Linked DNA regions of Homo sapiens: regions 1, 2, 3, 4, 5 and 7 are each linked to region 6. Evidence: promoter capture Hi-C in 16 types of primary human blood cells and fetal thymus (Javierre and others, 2016). All regions are on one chromosome and are shown on one strand. Each heading gives the region's core, a stretch centred on a gene start or on the middle of the fragment in contact. The rest is flanking DNA. Distances are from core to core; before and after follow the strand shown.

Region 1 (2,935 bases), core at 243-2,742, 330 kb before region 6:
GCATGAGCCACCGCACCTGGCGGGACTTTCTTAATTTCCTGTTTGGATTGTTCATTGCTAGCTTGAAATACAGCTGATTTTTGTGTATTGCTTATATGCTGCAACTTGGCTGGATTCACTTATTAGCTCTAATAATTCATTTTTCTGTGTATTCTCTAAGATTTTCTATATATAGGATTCTGTCACCTGCAACTAGAGATAATTTTACTTCTTCCTTTCCTATTTGAATGCGTTATATTTATTTTTCTTGCCTGGCTGCTCTGCTAGGATTCGCGGTACAGTGTTGACGAAGAATGGCAAGGATAGGCATTCTTGTCTTGTTCCTGGTTAAGGGGGAAGAGACTTTTTTTAAACATGTATGTTGCGTTATATGTACTGATATATTTCTGTAACTGTACAAAACTCACTTCTGCATAATGGAATTTCTTAAAGATTGGAAATATTTTTGCATATGAATAGTAGTTGACTTTGTGTGATGAGTTTGAATGAGTTTGAATAGTCTACTTTTTCTTTATTTTGAACTTTTTCAATAACGAAGATATATTTTTAAGCTTGAAAGTGACTATATTAAAAGAAGAAAAAGAGGAATACTGTTGAACAACAAACTGTAATCTGCCAATAAGTTCATAAATTGCCTTTGAGGAGGCCTCATAAAAATGCCTATTGAAGTGGTAATTTTTGTTAGCCAGAATAAATTTAAATGGAAATAATTTTCTCCAAATCATACATAGAAATGCAAGAAACCAAGATAGCCACAGAAATATAAATTAAAAATACTAAACCTTAAAAACACCAAAATACTTTTATCACGTAATTACATGCTGCCTTGGATTCCGTTACTACTCATGGTGTGTCCCTGTCTCAATTGATTTTATCTGACCTGCGCCGTCAGTACTTTTTAAAAGAGACAGGGTCTTGCTCTGTTACCCAGGCTGAAGTGCAGTGATATGATCATAGCTTGCTGCAGTCTCAAACTCCCAGGTTCAAACAACCCTCCTGCCTCAGACTCCCAAGCAGTTAGGACTACAGGCATGCACCACCACCCCTGGCTATTTGTTTTTAAATTTTTTGTAGAGATGGGTCTCACTGTGTTGCCCAGGTTAGTCTTGCACTATTGACCTCAAGTGATCCTCTCACCTTGGCCTCCCAAAGCACTGGGATTACCATTCCTGGCTCAATACATTTTTAAACTATAGGTATTCTTTTTGTTCTAGCCTATGATATGGTTGTTAATGGTTATAATTAACATAGTTCAATGTCCTATAATTAGACTTGAACTTTTTTGAGGGCTAGGTTGTGGGGCAGAGTTGAGAGCTGTAGTTAGAAGGCTCCAAATAAATAGTTTTTAAATTTGGGTTTCCTCAGGTCAACTGACATTAGCTAACTGTGTGATTGCAAGAAATGATCTTGTATCTAGGGTAAAAAACAAAAGAGCACATCTGCAGATACACATTATGAATCAGGAAAAACATGATTTGGAACGTGTGCATTGGAACCAAGTTTTAGTATGTCAGTTTTAGGAACTAAGTAAAGGGTTCTTCATAATACTTCTTCTGTACCATCCGTGTTTGAAAACGAAGTACAAAAACTTTACCTTGCAAGGTCAGTGCTGAAGATAATGTGTTAATAAGAACAGGAGCTTTAGCTTGAATTCTAGTGTTTTAACAACTATCTCTAAGGTACTGAGAGGTTAAACATGGTTTATAATATTGTAAGGGCAAAAATTAAGGGTAAACTGTATTTCTTACAATAATTTTTTAAGAACTCATGTTTTCTTTTTATCAACATGTATATTTTCTTTTTTTTTTCTTGTAGTACCTGTTTGAAAATGGTAGAATAGATAACATTTTTACTGAGCCCTATTCCAGATTTATGATTGAACTTACCAAACTCTTGAAAATATGGGAACCTACAATACTTCCTAATGGTAGGGTGATTTTTTTTTTATTGTTTTCATGATATGCTTTCTTAAATTGCTTAACTTTTTTGGTTATCTTTAAAAAAATTGTTCATTTTTATTTCTGTCCAGATTTATACCATATTTGGACTTCTGAGGAGACGGTCTTTGGTTTATTGTTGATTGTTTTAGGAAAACTGTACAAGTCATATAGCACATGTATAGATACTGATTGCAGAAAATATAAACTAATTTGAAGTTACATTTACCTTTTTAGAAACCATTTTTGATCTGGTAGCATTGGTGTAGCTTTCACATATCATATCTGCTAACAGTGGACCTTTTTTGGTAGTTTGTATGTATACTGAACTGTTGTTAAGAGAGTTAAGTCCTCGTCCTTGAATTATCTTTGACCAGATGTCATCAGACAAGTCCATAATTCACTCCAGGTCTCAGGCTGAGGTGAATGAAGAGGTTCAATGTTATGCTTAGTAATATATGCACCTTTCTGTTGGGCTGCAGAGCACCTTTAACAGTAAGCTTAATGATCTCCAACAGGAGTTTGCAAACTATGGTCCATGGGCCAAATCTGGCCTGCTCCCTGTTTTGCAATCTATGAGCTAAAAATTGTTTTTACATTTTTAAATAGTTGGGGAAATTTTTTTAAGAATTCCTATTTCATCATGTGAAAATTATATTAAATTCATGGCTGGGTGTGGTGGCTCACACCTGTGGTCCCAGGTGTGACTTTGGAAGGCTGAGGCAGGAGGATCACTTGAGCCCAGGAGTTCAAGATCAGCCTGGGCAACAAGGTGAAACTCTGTCTCTACAAAAAATAAAAAAAATTAGCTGGGCATGGTGGTGGTGCCTTGTAGTCCCAGCTACTCAGGAGGATGAGGTGGGAGAAGCACCTGAGCCCAGGAGTTTGAGGCTGCAGTGAGCCCTGATCGTGCCACTGCACTCCAGCCTGGGTGACAGAGTAAGACCCTGTCTCAAAAAAAAGAAAAGAAAATTATATGACTATAAATAAATTTTACT
Region 2 (2,978 bases), core at 132-2,631, 300 kb before region 6:
TGAACCTCTCCTACTGAGTCTTCGGGCAGCGGAGCAGCAGGGCCACAGAAGAACACTGACCGCCAGGACATCTCCAGTGTGGTGGGGACAGTGGAAAGGGCCCTGGCAAGGGCCCAGGTCCTCCAAAGGCCCTGCCTCACCCCTTGAAATACCCACCTGTTCACAGCTGCCTCCTTCCCAAAGCCCCTCTGGCTATAGCAGTGAGGACAGGAGCCTAGGTTCAACCTAATATACTTCAATAGAAAGTTTTAGAAAAAAAATCAATAGAAAACAAAAACAACAACAAAAAACAACAGCAACAAGAGAAAACAAAGCCATAGCTGCTGAATGTAAAGGGGGCCTCCTGAGGGGGGCAGCCCTACACTTACCAGGTGGCACTGCTCTCCTTCCTCAGTTACTGTTCATCCTCAGCCTAAACTGGCTCCTGGCAAACTGTCCGTCCAGACTCCCGCGCACACACATCCTCTTTCCCCCCAACGGACCCACTCAGTTTACCCTTCTTCCAGCTAAACTTCTTCAGTTCCATACCTGACACCATATGGTCTTGAATCTCATTCTCCTCGTCCTCCTAGTGACTCTACTCTAGGCTGGACCTGCTAACCCACTGAGCCCAGAACAAGAACCAGTGCTTCCGGCCTGCTCAGACCCACACCGAACCTGAGCGGGCTCTCCCAGCTCCCTTCGGTAGACACTGCCCACAAGAGACCAGCCCTGCTGCCCTCACCTGGTCGCACGTTGTTGGTTTTGGTCACCTAGATGCCACTGGAACACCCCATGGCTCTCCCCTCTCCCTAAGATGTCCGATGTGCTGAGCTCAGGCTCCCATCCAATCTCACCTCTGCAGCGCGGCACTTCTCCGGGCCATCACCGCCCGTTTCTCCCCTCCTGCCTCAGAAGAGGCATCTGAACTCCATGCTCCCTTTCTCTCCTCTCTTCCCTTCTCCCTCCTTCCTCCTCAGTCAGGAAGCACCTCTCCAACGCACCACTCCTCTACCTGCATTCGACATTGCCACCCACAGATCTGTTCATGAGCCCTTCTCTGAGGAAGAGGAGGCCCTTGCCCTCTGCCTGCCATCCTGCTTCTCTAGCTTTCACTGCTCAGCTTCTAAAAGGATTTTTAAATATTCAGGGCCTTCATCTCCTCACTGCGCTTTCTAAATCACCTGCGCTTTCACTTCCACTGTCACTCCCCACTCTACTGCAGCTCTCTGATGGGCCAGGAGCTTCTCTGGTGCTATCAATTCTGATTCTTTGGCCTTTGCAGCAGCAAACACCGACGGCTGTCCCCTAATGAATCCCCTCCTCCCTCCTGGATGGTCATTCTTGGGGTCCTCAACCCTAGGCCTCTTCTTTTGTCCTTCAACATTCCCCCATAAGGGATGTGACCCTTTGTGGTGCTGATCCTCACCAGCAGATGGGAGATTCCTATTTCTACAGTTCCATGTCTGACTCTTCTGCTGAGTTCCATTTAATTCATCTTCTCTTACCCAGTCACTGCATCAGAGGTTCTGATTCTGTCAACAGCACTATCATTCTCCATCTCTCGGTTGGAAGTCAGCCCTGACCTTGCCAGACCTAGCTATAACCCACTGACACCACGCTGTGTGAATCACTGTCAGCTCCTCCTTGGACCAAAAATCTCCTTGCTGGTCTCCACACTTGTAGCCACTCCCCTTCAATTATTATATGTTGTCACCAGACTGATTTTCCTAAACCAGCTTATCCAAGACTTTGCTTCCCAGCATCACCAGGATAAATGTTTAACTCTGCAGGCTGATAGTCAAACTTTCACAATTTGGGCCTTGTCAATCTTTCATTCTCATTCCCTCAACTCCATTCATAACTGTCTTGCACCAAACACTTGATCTCCACCATTTCTTCTCCAGTCTCTCCCATCTCAGGGATACTACCACCACCCAACCCACAGAGGCTCAGTGCTGAAGCTGGGAGCCATCCTTCCTTTCTCCCTTCTCCCACACGCCTTGGCCAGCAGACCACTAACCTCATCAAGTCTTCCTCAAAAATGTATCTAGAATCTATCTGCCTCTCAACCCCAAGGACATTCTATCTAACTTCCTTTCAGCTAGCCTTTCCCCTCCAACCCCTGCATCTGTCAGCCACAGTTATCTTTTTTTTTTTTTTTTTTTTTTTTTTGAGACAGAGTCTGGCTTTATTGCCCAGGTTGGAGTGATCTCAGTTCACTGAAACCTTCACACCCCCAGGTTCTAGCAATTCTCCTGCCTTGGCCTCTCGAGTAGCTGGGATTACAGGCACCCACCACCACGCCCAGCTACACAGTTGTCTTTTTAAAATATAAACCAAGACCGGGTGCCATGGCTCACACCTATAATCCCAGCACTTTAGGAGACCAAGGCAGGCAGATCACTTAAGCCCAGGAGTTCAAGAACAGCCTAGGCAACATGATGAAACCCCGTCTCTACCAAAAATACAAAACAACAACAACAACAACAAAAAAACCTGGGGATGGTGGCGCATGCCTGTGGTCCCAGCTACTTAGGAAGCTGAGGTGGAAGGATCACCTGAGCCCAGGAGGTCAAGACTGCAGTGGGCCTTGATCGCACCACTGCACTCCTGCCTGGGTGATAAGAGTGAGACTCTGTCTCAAATAATAATAAATGTAAACCAAATCCCACCATTCATCCCCTTAAAAAGCTATCAGTGGCTCCCCATTGTACTCAAGAGAAGTCCTCAGCAGGGACCCTGCTCATCCATTGAGCCTTGGGTCACTCACCCCTTACTCTGTGGGAAGGTGAACCTGTCCATCATGTCACCTTCTTCTACCTCCTCAAATGCTCTCTGCTCCTTCTAGCAGCTGGGTCTGCACCAGTTTTGTTCCTTTGCCTGGAATGCTATTTCCTGCAGCTTTATCTGGCTAGCTCCCACTTATCCAGGTCTCAGCTTAAGTGTTTTTCTTCATAAAGGCCTTTTATGAGCATATTTTATGTATTTGTGAGTTT
Region 3 (2,936 bases), core at 372-2,871, 340 kb before region 6:
TTGTATTTCTTATACATTTGGTTGAATATTTACTTGCTATGTCCTCCATGTAATTCCAATATGACATTTCCTTTAATATTATAATATTTCTTATAATTACAATGAGATTTTTAAAAATGTTTTTGGTTTCTAATTTGTTTTTTTACTAGGCAAGTACTCAAACAGATGCCCTGAAACTGCCACCTTCCCAACCTCCAAGGCTTTTGAAGAACAAAGCTTTATTATGCAAACCCATCACACAGACTAAAGCCACCTCTTGCAAACCACATACCCAAAACAAAGAATGCCAGACAGGTATGTTCCTTGGTCTTTCTTTCTTTATTAATTTTTTAAGGGAAAGAAATGTAGGATCTACTTACATTGAGTACCTGCTATTTCCTAGGTGATGTGTTTGGTTGTTTGTATACATTGCCCAATTTAGTTCTCACAGCATCCCCGTGAGTTAGGTATTTTCCGCATCTGAGGCTTAACAAGTTGGGTCAAAGAGAAGGAAGTTAATCAGTGATACCATACTGTGAGCAAGTCATTTAATTCTCTTATTAATGACAATGTAATATTATAGAATAAGCATAAGGTTTGGAATTACATGGACAGGCTTCTAAGGAGGTGCTATTGTTTTCCAGTGTGACCTTAGGTTTGAACTACTCCACAGTCTCTTGGCTACTCCACACTGTTTCAAATGAAGTCAGTTCCTTTGAGGAGAGCTTCAGAGCTTTCTTTTTTTTTTTTTTTTTTTTTTTTTTTTTTATGAACTGCCTCTCCCCCTAGGCAGAATCTCTGAGCCACCTCTATGGATGCTGGGCAGGGTAGTAGTCTCTGGCCTTCTTGGCTTGCCTCCCCTGGCATGGAACTTCTGCCCTACAAGTGAGCTGGGGTGAGGGTGATCAGGATCCCAGTGTTCTTGGCCTGCTTTTCCTAGGGTAGAGCCTCCATCCAGTGGATGGAAACTGGGTGAAGGGAAGCCCCTGACCTCTTGCCCGTACTCACCAGGAATTTAGCCTCTTCAGCTTTCAGTTGGAGCGGATGAGAAATGCTTGTGGCCTCCCTTTCTTGATGAGATACAGTAACACTTGATTGGGAGCTGAGTGGAGAGAAGCCCATTTTTATTGGCCACAGCTACCCATAGTGGAGTTTCTGTCAAGCTGAGCTGAATTGAGCTGGGGGGATAAAGCCTGTGATGGCTGAAATGTCACAGACTTTCACTGTTCTTACCAAATTTGAACAGATTGTCTTGAATAAATGTTTCTTCATTTGGTATATGCCTTTAGGACAATTTCCCAAGAATTTAAATGGCTGTTTTTAAATAGTTTCACTTTCTTTGCTTGTTTCACTAAGGAATAGATCTTTGTAGCTCCTCATGCTGCCATCCAAAAGTCCTAGAATTTTGGCCGATTGCAGTGGCTCACACCTGTAATCCCAGCAGTTTGGGAGGCTGAGGCAGGAGGATCACTTGAGCCCAAGAGTTCAAGACCAGCACGGGCAACATAGCGAGACCATCTCTACTAAAAAATTTTTAAAAGTCCCAGAATTTTTAAACTAGAAGGAAATTCTTGATTTCTAGAGCTGCAAGGCTATCCTGTCAGCCATTGCTTCTCAAAGATTAATATGCACATGAATTATCCAGGAATTTTACTAAGTAGATTCTTATTCAGTGAGGCCTGAGATTTTGCATTTCTTATAAGCTCCCAGGTAAAGTCAGTGCTTCTGGTTCATGGACCACACCAAAATAGCAAGGCTCTAAATGATTTAGTTCTTTTTTTTTTTTTTTAATCAATAGCAGTTTATTTAGTATTATGTAGTTTGGTTATCAGATGTTTCTAAATCAAGTAACAATTTTTTAATGTCCGCTGTATTATGTAAAGTTTGTTGGCCAAATGTGGTGCCTCATGCCTATACTCCCAGCACTTTGGACAGCTGAGGCGGGAGGATCACTTGAGCCCAGGAGTTCAAGACCAGCCTGGGCAACATGGTGGGACCCCCATCTGTTAAAAAAAAAAATTTATGCCATATTATTTTCCCACTTCTAACTCTAGTCAAATTGTTAGCTCTTCTCTTTCTGTCCCTAGTATTACCTTTCTCCTAGATTAATGATTTTACACTTATCTAGCATATTCTCTGACACATAGAAAGGACTCTATATGCTCCTTGACTTATAATGTTGTACCCATCATATGTTAAAAAAATCATGAGTCAGAAATGCATTTAATATGCCCAACCTCCAGAACATCATCATAACTGGGCCTAGGCTATTTTAAACATGCCCAGAACATTTACATTAGCCTACAGTTGGGCAAAGTCATCTAACACAAAGTTTATTTTATAATAAAGTTTTGAATACCATGTAATTCATTCAGTGCTATACAGAAGTATGGTATATACTTGTTTTTGCACCATCATAAAGTTGGAAAATCCTGTATTGAACCATCGTTAAGTTGGGGACCGTCTGGTTAAATAATGGAATAAATCATCCATCTTGCTACTTTCTCCAAGTTTTTTTCCAAGTTCTGTTTCATCCTTTTAATACTTAGAACATCTGCTATATATATTTATTCTTTTTTGTAGGTATCATAACCTAGAGTAGTCTCCCATCATCTTAGCTCTACATATTATAATTGCCTCCTATTTTAACAGTTGATATATTTTTTATTCAGTGCTGAAATTGTTGCCAAATTAATCTTTTTTGATGTCATTTTCATCACTACTTTGTGTTAAAAAAATCTTCAGTAGCTACAAATGATTTTGAAATGTGCATTATAGCATGATGGAAATGGCCCCTCCCTATTCAGCCTCCTCTTTAGCAAGTGGTTTTCCATGCCTGTCTTCTAGGTTCCCTGTTTCAATCCTTTCAATTTATCCATCTAAATTATATCCTGCATTCATTTTCTCCTCACATCACTGATATTTGTTACCCACTTTTTGTCAGTGCTATACTCAAG
Region 4 (3,299 bases), core at 389-2,888, 480 kb before region 6:
AGGGTTTCACCATGTTGGCCAGGCTGGTCTCAAACTCCTGACCTCAGGTGATCCACCTGCCTCAGCCTCCCAAAGTGCTGGGATTACAGGCATGAGCCACCGCGCCTGGCCCATGTCATTTATTTGACCTTTCCAATGTATTTGGTCATGGTTTACTATTTTTAATGTGCATTAGTGATTCCCATCTTTTAAAAAAAGATTTCTTGGGCCACATTCCTCTCCAATAGCACTCTATCTCTCTAATCTTTTTCAAAGTGAAACTTCTTGAAAGAATTGTTCACATTCACTGTTTCTATGTCTTCATCTCTTATTCTCTCTTCCAGCCACTCCAATCATGCTTATGTTTAAACAAATCCACTGAAATAATTCTAGTCCAGATCACTAAAGATCTTTCAATCGTATCATCAATTCTTGGGCCTCATCTTACTTGTCCTCTCAGTGACATCTGAAAAATTAGTAATTGAGCCTCTCCCAAAACAGTCTTTATTTGGTTACTGAGACCACAAATTCTCCTGACTTTCCTGCTACTTGGCTGATTCTCTTTCTCTTCCTGAGCTGTAAATGTCGGGGTGCCTCCGGATTCATTTCAATATACGTGCTCTTGGTAACTCTATCAAGTCTATGGCTTATATCAATGACTCTCATATTTCTATCTCTAGCCCTGTTATCTCTCCTAAGCTTCAGATTTGAATATCTAACTGCTATTCGACATTTCCACTTGGATGTCTAGAGGCATCTCAAATTTATCATGTCCAAGACATCTTCCTTCTTTCTCTGCCCACTTTCTCACATCTGCTCTCTTTTTTTGCATTTCAAATAATGGGCAACAGCATTAACCTATCTATTCAGGCTAAAAAGCTAAGAATCATCCCTAAATCACTTTTTCTTTCACTCCCAGCACCCAATTCATTAGCAGCAATTCCATGGGCTACGCCTTCAAAATACATATATTCTGAATCTAATTTTTACTATCTCCAACGCCAATGCCCTAGGCTAAGTCATTGTTATCTCTTACCTGGACTGCCACAAAGCCTCGTAACTTACATCCACCCTTGCTCCTTTATGGCTTATTCTGCAATGCACATGGTATCCAGAGGGTTCACATCATTTTTTTTTTTTTCAAAGACTTCAATGGCTTTACATCATACACAGAAAATTACAAATCCTTACCATGGCATCCAAGGATCTTCATAATTTGTCTTTGTCTGCTTCTCTGACTTCATCTTCTGCCCCATCTCACTTGGTCCTAGTAACATCGGCACCTTGCTTTTCTTGAACACTTCAAGTTTGTTCCTGCCAAGGGGTTTTACACTTGCTGCTCCCTTTGACTGGAATGCTCTGACCCAGACATTTGCACAGATGGCTCTCAGTCATGAGGTCATGATTTAAGTTTCAGTTCAAATGTCACCTCCTAGCCAGGTGCGATGGCTCACAGCTGTAATCTCAGCACTTTGGGAGGCCGAGGTAGAAGAATCACTTGAGCCCAGGAGTTTGAGGCTCCAGTGAGCTATGAAGGTGACACTGCACTCCAGCCTGGATGACAGAGCAAGATCCTGCCTCTTTTTTTTTTTTTTTTTTTGATACAGCGTCTCACTTTGTCGCCCAGACTGGAGTGCAGTGGCACGATCTTGGCTCACTACAACCTCTGCCTCCTGGGTTCAAGCAATTCTCCTGCCTCAGCCTCCCGAGTAGCTGGGATTACAGGCATGTGCCACCATGCCCAGCTAATTTTTGTATTTTTAGTAGAGACAGGGTTTCACCATGTTGGCCAGGCTGGTCTGGAACTCCCGACTTCAAGTGATCCACCTGCCTCGGCTCCCAAAGTGCGGGGATTACAGGCATGACCCACCGTGCCCAGCCAAAACCCTGCCTCCAAAAGAAAAGAAAAAGAAAAACAAAGTCACCTCCTCGGAAAATATTCACTGACTAACATATCTAAAGTAGCCCCACTACAGTTATTTTTTATCCCACTTGTTTTACTTTCTTCCTAACATTTTCTGAATGGATCTACCTAAATGTCCAATGTAGTTTAAAACATATTTGAATCTAATGGTTAGAATTCTGTTAGTTAATAATTTCTTTTGGAAAGAAACACTGTATCTTTCCTGTGGCTGCCCTCTCCCTCTGAGTGAGTATCTAAAATAACGTCTGCATTTATGAGGCATTATGACTTTGGGGAAGCCTGAGACCTTGAATCTATTCGGAGTCCCTGACCTCTCAGGATGCTCTACAGCCTGTTGTTAAGAGAGTGGAATGTTTTGTAGCCTGGCCTCGCTAAGTTTGCTCAGAGCCTGAAGGCAAACCACACAGCTCTTCCTGAGGTCTGGCTGTTACTACTTTTTGTTCCTGGCCCAGTGTAATTTACAGAGCTACTTCCTCCTATACTTGCCAGCCAGCATTCTTGGCTACTTTCCGTATTCTTCTACAGGGTATGTGGGAACTTCTGGATATCTTCTCTCGCAGGAGCTAAGGACCACTCACTTGCAGAGCTCCGCCCAAAACCCTGTACCTAATTTTGTGTATGTAATTCTGTGTTCTTTTTCTTAAAAACAAAACAAAACAAACAAACAAAAAAACCCTCCCTCTCCCCCCATCATGTAAGCTTCAAGATCTGTAAAACCTGGATTCATCTCTGGCTGAGAGACACTCTGAGGAGCTAAATGCAGACCTGCTCTTTTTTCCCAACTACATCAGGGCATGACTTTTGCTCATATGTGGCTGTCTGCTTGTTGGTATGGGCATAGTCTGCAAGTCATCTCTACTTGGAATCTTAAACAGGAGCAGAGTAAGAATCCTCTCTGCCTTGAAGAGCTGGAATGGGAAGACAGGAGCACATGTCTCTCAATGATGCCTCTCTTACTTTTCTCTTTGTTCTTCTTCTCTCTACCCTTTTATTAAAAGAGTCAGACTTTTCTTTTATTTCCCTATATGCAGCCTCATGGCTTAGCTGTCCTGGATGGAAGGATATTTGGGTGGAAGGCATTTCCTGTGGAGTATGTAAAAACTCTATGAAATTATTATGTGCTGAGCTTCATAGATTAAATGGAACTAAGAAAATTTAGCAAATTCTTTTTCTCTCCATTCTGTTCTCTCCTGATTGGGAAAATAAGTCTCAAGGCTACATTTCAAGCAAGAGTCTATGACAGAAGATGACTTAAGAAAGTTAAAAGAAATCTGTTTGATATTTGCAAGATACTAGCCCCATTATAGTCTAGTTTTTTTTTTTTTTTTTTTTTGAAACAAGTCAGAGCACTGAACTTGTAGGTGAAATATCCCATTTAAAATGTTGATATATGATT
Region 5 (3,078 bases), core at 232-2,731, 280 kb before region 6:
CTCGAACTCCTGACCTCATGATCCGCCCGCCTCAGCTTCCCAAAGTGCTGGGATTACAGGCGTGAGCCACCATACCCGGCCAAGATAAAGATTTTTGCTACCACGTTAATCAAAGGCCCCTAAAGCTTTCTCAGTTTGTTTGGAGGTTTCTAAAAATGCAGTCCAGCAGCTCTACTTCTCTTGGGCAAGAAAAAATAGGAACCATTCCCTCCTACCTGCATCTCCACCACTTTCCCTTTGCTGCTTGGGCTGAGTGACCACTCATAGCTGGTGATGCCATGATCATCAGTGCTCTGGTTCCCAAAGAGGGTGATGGAGTTTTGGGGCAGGGTGATCACTTGGTTGGGGCCTGCGTTGGCCACAGGGGGGTAATCCACAGCTTTGTTCACTGTCAGGTTTGCAGTAGTAGAGTTGGTAGCTCCATCAGAGTCTACTACAGTCAAGCTATCAGGGCAGAGAGAGGAGTGTGATCAGGGACGGGTTTAAGGAAAGAGGAATAAACACTAGAAGACTGAAAATTAAGGCTAAGAAATACCAATGTGGCAAGGTTACCTATTCTTACCCACTTCTATTGGAGAAGCAGAAAGTACTACTAGAAGCTAACACTGACTGAAGTTTTATGATGTGCTAGGCACTGCTCCAAGTTCTTTATATCTCATTAAATCCTCACAACAATTCTATAAAGTATCATCCTCATTTTACTCCTCACATATATGAGGAGAAAGACAGAGAGGCCAGGTGCGTTGGCACACACCTGTAATCCCAGCACTTTGGGAGGCCAAGGCGTGCGGATCACCTGAGGTTGGAAGTTTGAGACCAGCCTGGCCAACATGGTGAAACCCCATCTCTACTAAAAATACAAAAATTAGCCAGGCATGGTGGTGCAGGCCTATAATCCAGCTACTTGGGAGGCTGAGGCAAGAGAATTTCTTGAACCCGGGAGGCGGACGTTGCAGTGAGCTGTGATTGCACCACTGCACTCCAGCCTGGGAGACAGAGGGAAACTTCATTTAAAAAAAAAAAGAAAAAGGAAGGAAGGAAGGAAGGAGAGATGGAGGGAAGGAGGAAGGGAGGGAAGGAAGGAGGGAGGGAGGGAGGGAGGGAAAGAAGGAAGGAATGAAGGAAGGAAGGAAGGAAGGAAGGAAGGAAGGAAGGAAGGAAGGAAGCAAGCTTGCCCAAGGTCATACAGCTTGAAAGCAGTGGAGTCAGGTTCTGATCCAGGCAATATGTCTCCAGCGCCATTTTGTCCTGCTGCTGCCTGCACGCATCTGTGTCCTGAGGTCTCTATAAGAATTGTCTGATATGGCCCTCATAACAACCATATAGAGTAGGCATCATTGATTCCAGTTTTATAAGAGGCTTAGAGAGGCTAAGTAACCCACCCAAGGGCTATATAGTGAGCCAAGATGCAAGCATAGTTCTCTGATTCCAAAGCTCAGAAACCAAATCTTAAGAAGAGGTAATTCTTAGTCCCTATTCCCGATTCCCTACGCTATGTAGTGCAAGCTCCGTCTGCAGCAGGCTGTTTTCCCATCATCCTGTTCCAGCTGTTTACACATCACAACGATGGACATCCTAGGCAGACAGCCTGCGGGACGAACCAGGAGGGCTGGCTCCAGTAAGGCAGGAGCTTGAGATGAAAATGAATTCTCCTACGCAACAGTCCCACAATTTGTGCCAGTGAGACACAGGATTTGCAAAAAAAAAAAAAAAGAAAGAAAGAAAATAAAAAAAAATGTTCATTTATAAGAGCAGGCTTTTACCTAAATGATGCCTTCCAGCTGAACAGCCTAAAGCTTCTCATGCCACCTCAAAATGTGAGCATAAGCAAGCAAGGAGGTTTGGGATCTTTCCATTTTGCTGACAGAAAGAGGAAAAGCATAGAAAAGACATGTAGTTTGTTTAAATCTCACCACCAGCCACAGACAGGGCCAGACGTCAGTGAGGTTTTATCCTGCAGTCTCACCTTTTACCTATGGTGTGAAGGGGATTTTTGGTATTACAGCCTTTAGGAAAAAAGCACAAAAACCTCAGACACACAAACATGTACCAATCAGCAGATATCTGAAAAACAAAAATTTACAGAAGTTTTGCCTCTTTTCCTAGTTTCTCTGTTGTTTTCACAGGTTTGGGTTTTTTTGTTTTGTTTTTTTTCTGAGACGGAGTCTCGCTCTGTCGCCCAGGCTGGAGTGCAGTGGTGCGATCTCGGCTCACTGCAAGCTCCGCCTACTGGGTTCACGCCATTCTCCTGCCTCAGCCTCCTGAGTAGCTGGGACTACAGCTACCTGCCACCATGCTCAGCTAATTTTTTTGTATTTTTAGTAGAGACGGGGTTTCACCTTGTTAGCCAGGCTGGTCTCGATCTCCTGACCTCATGATCCACCCGCCTCAGCCTCCCAAAGTGATGGGATTACAGGCATGAGCCACTGCGCCCAGCCTGTTTTTTGTTTTTAACATATGCCATTTGTCTCCTATGTCAGGACAAAAGCACCTTATAGACAGACGGCAAAATGGCAGCTGCCCATTTTCTCTTTCACCTCAAACAGTCCCTGGCTTGCCTGCAAAGATCCTGAAACCAAACAGCAGCTGACTATAGGGCTGAGGAAAAAGGCTACTGCCATGTAAAAGAGAGAGGAAAAGGTGAGTGAATTACAACCTTAATGCTAATCAAATCAAATCATATCATTTCATAGATTTTTTTTAAAATGAAGGTTAGGAAAAAAAAATCACTCTCATACCCCATCCACTAAAAAACCTGTAGGTTAACCTTGTGGTTAAAAGCTTAGACTCTAGAGTTAGACTGTGTGACCTTGGGCAAGTTACTTAAACTCTTTGTGCCAAAATTTCCTAATCTGTAAAATGAGGATAACCATAATACCTGTTATAAGAATTAAATGCAATACTGCCAGCAAAGAGCTCAGAATAGTATTTAGCACATAGTAAATGTTCAAGAAATATCAGCTATCATTGTTACTATGTTTTAAAAGGATCAACCTGGCCCAAGCTGAATTCTGTAAATAGAAAAATTCCGACATTAGAAATCTAAGGTGAAAACCAGCTCAAATGTCCATTTTAAGC
Region 6 (2,957 bases), core at 212-2,711:
GAGCTCACCATTCTTCTGCAGTGCTTTGGCTGTAACTTTCTTGGCCAGTATCATAAACTGACTGTCCTCCCCAATTTCTTCTTCTTCTTCAGCTGTAATTTTCCCCTGCTGTGCCTGAAAAAAAAAAAAAATATATATATATATATATATATATATACAGCATTAAAAGTCTATAACCTTCCTAAATAGTTAGCATGGCCTGGATTGTGAAACTAGAGTTCCTGGGGTATTTGTTTTCCTTTTTGCAGCCTTTGCTGCTTTAGACAAAAAAAAATTAATCTTAGACAAACATGAAGAGAACTGTCTATGGTATAGCCTTCTCAAAACACAAAAGATAGCTCAAGGATTAAAAGAGATAGCAATATGTTGCCTAAGATTTTGAAACTATCATGACAAGCTAAGATTTTGAAACTATCATGACAAGCTAAGGGACAGTCTCATAAACTAGGGTCAGAGTAGGTGAACTCCTACCATGTCCCGAAGCCACTGCTCTCGTTCAATTCGCTCCTTCCTCCACCTGGCTTCTGACTCATCAAGCTGTTCTTCAGTCTGATCATCATCAGAGTCTCTGTGGAACAAGTCCATCTGGGAAGCATCATCTAAACAAAGAGTGAAGGTAATCAGCATTCGGCAGTCCTCACAGGAGAGGGTGCTTGGACAGACAAAAAATAAACCCTTATCATTTACTATATAATGATGTAAACTTTTCCCATCCATTAACAGAAAACAGTTACAACTAGGTCTTCACATAGCCTGTTATAGTTTTGCTTGCCATTTGCCATCTGAAACTCGACAAATATGCATTGTAACTGTTTGCTTTTTTTTTTTTTTTTTTGAGATGGAGTCTCGCTCTGTCGCCCAGGCTGGAGTGCAATGGCATGATCTCTGCTCACTGCAACCTCCGTCTCCCGGGTTCACGCAATTCTCCTGCCTCAGCCTCCTGAGTAGCTGGGATTACAGGCGCGTGCCATCACAGCCTGCTAATTTTTGAACTTTTAGTAGGGACGGGGTTTCACCATGTTGTTCAGGCTGGTCCTGAACTCCTGACCTTGTGATCCACCTGCCTCTGCCTCCCAAAGTGTTGGGATTACAGGCGTGAGCCACCATGCTCAGCCCGTAACTGATTGCTTTTAAAGACAACAACCAAGATACCTATGTTTTTCCATCGAAACTTCCTCATTCGCCCAGGACCATCGCTGTGCAGATCCCCATCAGCAAGGTACCTCTCTTGGTATAAACGTAGCTGTCGCTTATCATCATCCAACATAGTTTTCCTGCAACAGGAGAAATAAGGTGTTCAAAACAAGGACCATTCTGGCTGGTTACAGGGCTTGTCTTAAGATGTACCCTATTACTCAGAAGGGCTTATTGGGATACTGACATGTGTATTTTCTTGATTTGACTCTGCAGTTCCTCATCAGAAGGAAGTACTTCATCAATTACGTCCTCTTCATATTCATCAATTTCTTCCCCATCATACTCATCTTCGCTTCCCACATCACTTCCTGACACCTCTGCCTCATCCTCCAGGTATTTCCTCAACCTCCTAGAAAGCAATTTTGAGGATTAGAAAATGCAACAATGAATATACTCACAGAATATGGAAGCAAAGAAAAGCAGAACAGAGTCACTTCTAATAATAATAAACATAATACATTTGATAATATTTAAATTTTTTTGTAATAGTCTCCACTTATGATGGTTTGACTTAATGATTTTTCAACTTTACGATGACATGAATGTGATACGCACTTAGTATGCTTCTCGATTTACGATGGAGTTATATCTGGATAATATGAAAGTGCATTTTCAACTTATGATGGATTGATCAGGATATAGTCCCATTGTAAGATGTGGAGCATCTGTATTTAAAAGTTGATCACTTAATATGTCTTGTGTGCTAATAACTGTGCTTTACAGGCATTAACATATTATCATAGGAATGGGTACTATTATTCTCTTCATTTTACAGTTGAGGGAATTGAGCCTCAGAAAGATTACATTTACCCAAGGTCACATAGCTAGAAGGTAGCAGAGCCTGGATTCAACTTAGATTGGGTGATTTGAAAGCCAGAAAACTCTTAATCTCTTTTACATGTATTAGAATACCTGCTGGAAGGTTCAAACTATTTCATTTTGCATTTGAGCACACCAGCTTTAAGAGACAAACTAGAGATGGTGTGGTGTAGAAAGGTAATAAACTGGGATCTTCTTACAGCCTAACAAATCTTGACCCCCACATCAGAAGGAAGACTAAGGCTCAGAGCTCCTGGTAATCAAAACGACTAGTTACTTCTTATGACTTCAGCTCCCCCGGAGAATAAATCTGGTGTCACCCTGGATTCAAAGTCACCTTGGTCCCATGTGGTCCAAAATGGCAGAAGTTTGGTGGCTTTCTGAAAACTGATTTTTATCGAAGACCTATACTGTATTTTCTCTTTTTTTTTTTTTTTGAGATGAAGTGTCGCTCTGTCGCCTAGGCTGGAGTGCAGAGATGCCATCTCGGCTCACTGCAACCTCCACCTCCTGGGTTCAAGTGATTCTCATGCCTCAACCTCCCGAGTAGCTGGGATTACAGGTGCGTGCCACCATGCCTGGCTAATTTTTGTTTTTTTAGTAGAGATAGGGTTTCACCATGTTGGCCAGGGTGGTCTTGAACTCCTGACCTCAGGGGATCTGTCCATCTCAGCCTCCCAAAGTGCTGGGATTACAGGCATGAGCCACCACGCCCAGCCTATACTGTATTTTCTTAAAGCTAAGTTGTTCTAAATCCTAGAGTTCCTGGAAAATTCCTTCAGAGGCCACTAGTCACTAAGTTTCCCAAACTTCCCACTTACCATCTTTGAACAGTTCAACTTTTATCTGTCATTCTTTAAAAGATTTTATTTGAACAAAGAGCTCTGCAGAGAAGAACCACTACCTTAGAAAAATCTATGGATAACCTAAAGCTGTATGAG
Region 7 (3,115 bases), core at 473-2,972, 370 kb before region 6:
CAGCAATACCAGTCCTATAGGATCAGACCTTTGATAATTCTTCTAGAAATCCCCCAGAGCAGCTCTCATGTTATAAACTAGATATGTGATTCTTTCCTTCTTTTCTTTTTCTTGTCTTTTCCACACCCGTCTCCACCTTCCCTCCTTCTTTTAGAAGAGTATTGCCTTTCAAAATTGCATAATTTATTACTTTTATTCATTTCCCATGGACTGGAAAAGAGAACTCTAGTGTATTATATTATTAGTCTCAAAAAAGTACTATTAGCCTCTCATAAAATACTGATAGATTTTACAGTTGTGGTCAGTGTTTACTTTTGACCATCAGTTACCAGTAACTTCTTTCATGGTTCAATAAAATCATAGCTTTAGTTTATGGCACCTTTTCAAAACTTCCTTTGGCTTTTCTTTGTGCTTAATTTAGGTAGTTTTGCTTTTAGCTCACTTCCTAATTCTCTTTTTTACACAATTCATTTTGGTCCTAATTTCTTTACTTTACTATATAAACAAGGTGCTGAAATGTGTGTGTATGTATTTAACTTCCTCTACCCATTTGCTCTTGGTTATTTCTTCAGTTATGATATTCTGGATTTGCCAGTCATTGTCCGTCCTCCTGCCTCTATTACTGGCATAATGTCATTGGGTCTCACAGTTTCATTTCTTCATTCTAATTCTATTGCATGTTTCTATAATGTTTTCTGTAGTATTTTTACAGTTACAGATGCTTTTACACGTACTGTGTTGCTTAATTCGCCTAACAACCCTGTATAAGATGGCCAGAGTAGAGGATGTTAACATTTATAGGTGAGAGAGCTGAGAGATATAGAGATTTAGTTACTCAAGCCCTCATGGCCAGGAAGGAGCCAATCTGGGGTCATAATCAAAGTCTTTTTTTTTTTTTTTTTTTTTTTTAGTCTACCAATCTTTCTGTAAATAAAAGTTGTTTAATTTTAAAAATACCAAGGGAAGGTTTCAAAATAGATACTTTAAAGAGAGCCAGAGACCTCATTTTCCTCTTTTGCCTTTTCCATAGGGTCTAAAAACTGTACATTCAGTAAATACTACATTAAAGTCATGATTTCTTTTTCTTCTTGTTCATAATAATAGAGGACGAGCTAATGTGTAGTCTCTCATTGAAAGAACTCAATTAAAATGGGAAAGCAAATGAACTAATTGTCATAATAGTCATTCACACAGTTTTGGAAAGAAAATGTAGTAATTCAAATGTTGGGGCTCTTTTAGCCATATTGAGTTAATTTGGCAATAGAAACTGTGTTATTCATTTCTAAAATACTTTCATGGGATATTAATATTGATCTTCATTTGTAGTAAACTAAGAAGGTAAAGGTATTGGTAAAGGAATTTTTTTGTGTTTTGGCATGTGTTTTTCTGCTTCTGAAAGCTTTTGGGTTACCAATTAGATATTTACTTCTCAGAAAATATTTATTAGTATTTGGCTACTCATTGATTTGTTTATCAAATACTTGTAAAATTAGTGATCATGGGAGGATCCAAACATAAACCAAACATGATTGTGCCTTGAAGGCATTGTGGACCATACAAACAGTACTTAAGATGTATACTATTTTACTATATTACATAAATAATACGTACTCAAGGCTAAAGGAATCCAGCAGAAGTTTGCAATAGCCATCACAGAGACTAAGAGAGCTGACTGCAGACCGTTAATGTATGCCAATGAGTATTGGTTGTTTCTGGAGTTTTCTGAGATTAAAATAAAAATATTTAAGGAAATTTTCTTTAATACACTATATAATGAAGGAATGTCATGATTAGTCGATGTTAGAAAATCTTTTAATACATATATTTCATCAGCAGGTCAAATAAGGGTATCTGTAATAGTCACTTTATTAGATGCCAAAAGACATCTCATGTAATTCAGACATTTCTTAGAATAGATTTTTTCTTGATCATAGTAAGGAACTACTACTTCAGATCAGTAACAGTTATTGAAGTTGAAGTAAAATGATGGAAATCTTCTGTTAATATTACTAAAAGAATACAAGTTGCGGATGTCATCGTTATTATTTAACTCTTGTTGGATTTTTACTTCAATCCATGTTAAAGAAATTAGAAGAAAAAATAATGGAAAAAGGGAAATAAAATTATCACTTGCTATTAAGAATATTTATGAAAGAATTAATAGAATTCATGAAAATTTAGTGGAGTACCTAGTTGAATTATACCAATACTTCTATAAATAAACTTCCCAGTTAGATGATATAATGAAAAAGATACACTATTCCCAGCAGCAACTAAAAAGTACTTATATCAAATACAACTTGAAATAATGAAGAGACCATCTTTTTAAATGTAAGAAATATGTAGATGTCAGTTATTTTTAAATTAAGATTTAAGGCCAGGTGCGGTGGCTCACGCCTGTAATCCTAACACTTTGGGAGGCCAAGCGGGGGGCGAATCACTTGAGGTCAGGAGTTCAAGACCAGCCTGGCCAACATGGTGAAACCCTGTCTCTACTAAAAAATACAAAAATTACAGAAATTAGCCGGGCGTGGTGGTGCATGCCTGTAATCACAGCTACTCGGGAGACTGAGACAGGAGGATCACTCGAGCCTGGGAGGTGGAGGTTGCAGTGAGCCAAGATCGCACCATCGTGCCCCAGCTTGTGGGATAAGAGTGAAACTCCATCTCAAAAAAAAAAAAAAAAATTGAGATTTAGATTTGATGCAATTCTGATGAAAATATCAATGGTTAGGTTATGAAGTTTTGTAGAAGAATAATAGGCATGCACATACACACACTTATTACACATATATTCTAAAAAATGGATGGAGAGGTTGAATGTGGCAAATGCTGTTAAATGGTTGAACATCATACAATTAATTAATTTTTTTTTTTTTTAAAAGACAGAGTTTCACTCTTGTTGCTCAGGCTGGAGTGCAATGGTGCAATATTGGCTCGCTGCAACCTCTGCCCTCCCACCACCCTGGGTTCAAGCGATTCTCCTGCCTCAGCCTCCTGAGTAGCTGGGATTACAGGCGTGCACCACCACACCCCGCTGATTTCTGTAATTTTAGTAGAGACAGGGTTTCACCATGTTGGCCAGGCTGGTCTCAGACTCCTAACCTCAGGTGAT

The links. Contacts are between HindIII fragments. The CHiCAGO score rates a contact against its expected background, and 5 or more counts as called.
Region 1: a contact is called between a fragment that was not itself captured here and the fragment with the promoter of CLSPN-AS1 in region 6, in 2 of 17 cell types (total CD8 T cells and endothelial precursors). The highest score is 6.1, in total CD8 T cells.
Region 2: a contact is called between a fragment that was not itself captured here and the fragment with the promoter of CLSPN-AS1 in region 6, in 9 of 17 cell types (total CD8 T cells, naive CD4 T cells, naive CD8 T cells and 6 more). The highest score is 8.5, in total CD8 T cells.
Region 3: a fragment that was not itself captured here is called in contact with the fragment with the promoter of CLSPN-AS1 in region 6 in 1 of 17 cell types (M2 macrophages); the score reaches 5.3 in M2 macrophages.
Region 4: a fragment that was not itself captured here is called in contact with the fragment with the promoter of CLSPN-AS1 in region 6 in 1 of 17 cell types (M2 macrophages); the score reaches 5.2 in M2 macrophages.
Region 5: a fragment that was not itself captured here is called in contact with the fragment with the promoter of CLSPN-AS1 in region 6 in 2 of 17 cell types (fetal thymus and total CD8 T cells); the score reaches 5.7 in fetal thymus.
Region 7: a contact is called between the fragment with the promoter of ZMYM4-AS1 here and the fragment with the promoter of CLSPN-AS1 in region 6, in 11 of 17 cell types (M2 macrophages, total CD4 T cells, total CD8 T cells and 8 more). The highest score is 7.6, in M2 macrophages.

Annotation. Positions count from the first base shown.
Region 1 is chr1:35,412,157-35,415,091 of GRCh38, forward strand. ZMYM4 (zinc finger MYM-type containing 4) reads left to right here. Exons shown (of 30, transcript NM_005095.3): 27 at 1,816-1,927. Among named protein-coding and RNA genes, the nearest start is that of ZMYM4-AS1, 48 kb to the left of the region's middle. The HindIII fragment of the contact is 1,886 bases long and covers 550-2,435 here.
Region 2 is chr1:35,436,388-35,439,365 of GRCh38, forward strand. The region is part of intron 20 of KIAA0319L (KIAA0319 like); the gene reads right to left. Among named protein-coding and RNA genes, the nearest start is that of ZMYM4-AS1, 72 kb to the left of the region's middle. The HindIII fragment of the contact is 5,091 bases long and covers 1-2,978 here.
Region 3 is chr1:35,393,446-35,396,381 of GRCh38, forward strand. It overlaps ZMYM4 (zinc finger MYM-type containing 4), which reads left to right. Exons shown (of 30, transcript NM_005095.3): 18 at 150-294. Among named protein-coding and RNA genes, the nearest start is that of ZMYM4-AS1, 29 kb to the left of the region's middle. The HindIII fragment of the contact is 2,814 bases long and covers 215-2,936 here.
Region 4 is chr1:35,262,758-35,266,056 of GRCh38, forward strand. No RefSeq gene overlaps it. Among named protein-coding and RNA genes, the nearest start is that of ZMYM4, 4.3 kb to the right of the region's middle. The HindIII fragment of the contact is 1,924 bases long and covers 677-2,600 here.
Region 5 is chr1:35,455,798-35,458,875 of GRCh38, forward strand. KIAA0319L (KIAA0319 like) reads right to left here. Exons shown (of 21, transcript NM_024874.5): 10 at 216-444. Among named protein-coding and RNA genes, the nearest start is that of ZMYM4-AS1, 91 kb to the left of the region's middle. The HindIII fragment of the contact is 626 bases long and covers 1,169-1,794 here.
Region 6 is chr1:35,737,984-35,740,940 of GRCh38, forward strand. It overlaps CLSPN-AS1 (CLSPN antisense RNA 1), which reads left to right and starts at 1,462. Exons shown (of 2, transcript NR_199043.1): 1 at 1,462-1,530. CLSPN (claspin) reads right to left here. Exons shown (of 25, transcript NM_022111.4): 19 at 1,382-1,546; 20 at 1,153-1,274; 21 at 472-599; 22 at 9-114. RefSeq lists enhancers at 311-812, 556-1,755. The HindIII fragment of the contact is 7,776 bases long and covers 1-2,957 here.
Region 7 is chr1:35,364,355-35,367,469 of GRCh38, forward strand. It overlaps ZMYM4-AS1 (ZMYM4 antisense RNA 1), which reads right to left and starts at 1,723. Exons shown (of 2, transcript NR_046659.1): 1 at 1,612-1,723. The region is part of intron 5 of ZMYM4 (zinc finger MYM-type containing 4); the gene reads left to right. The HindIII fragment of the contact is 9,120 bases long and covers 1,398-3,115 here.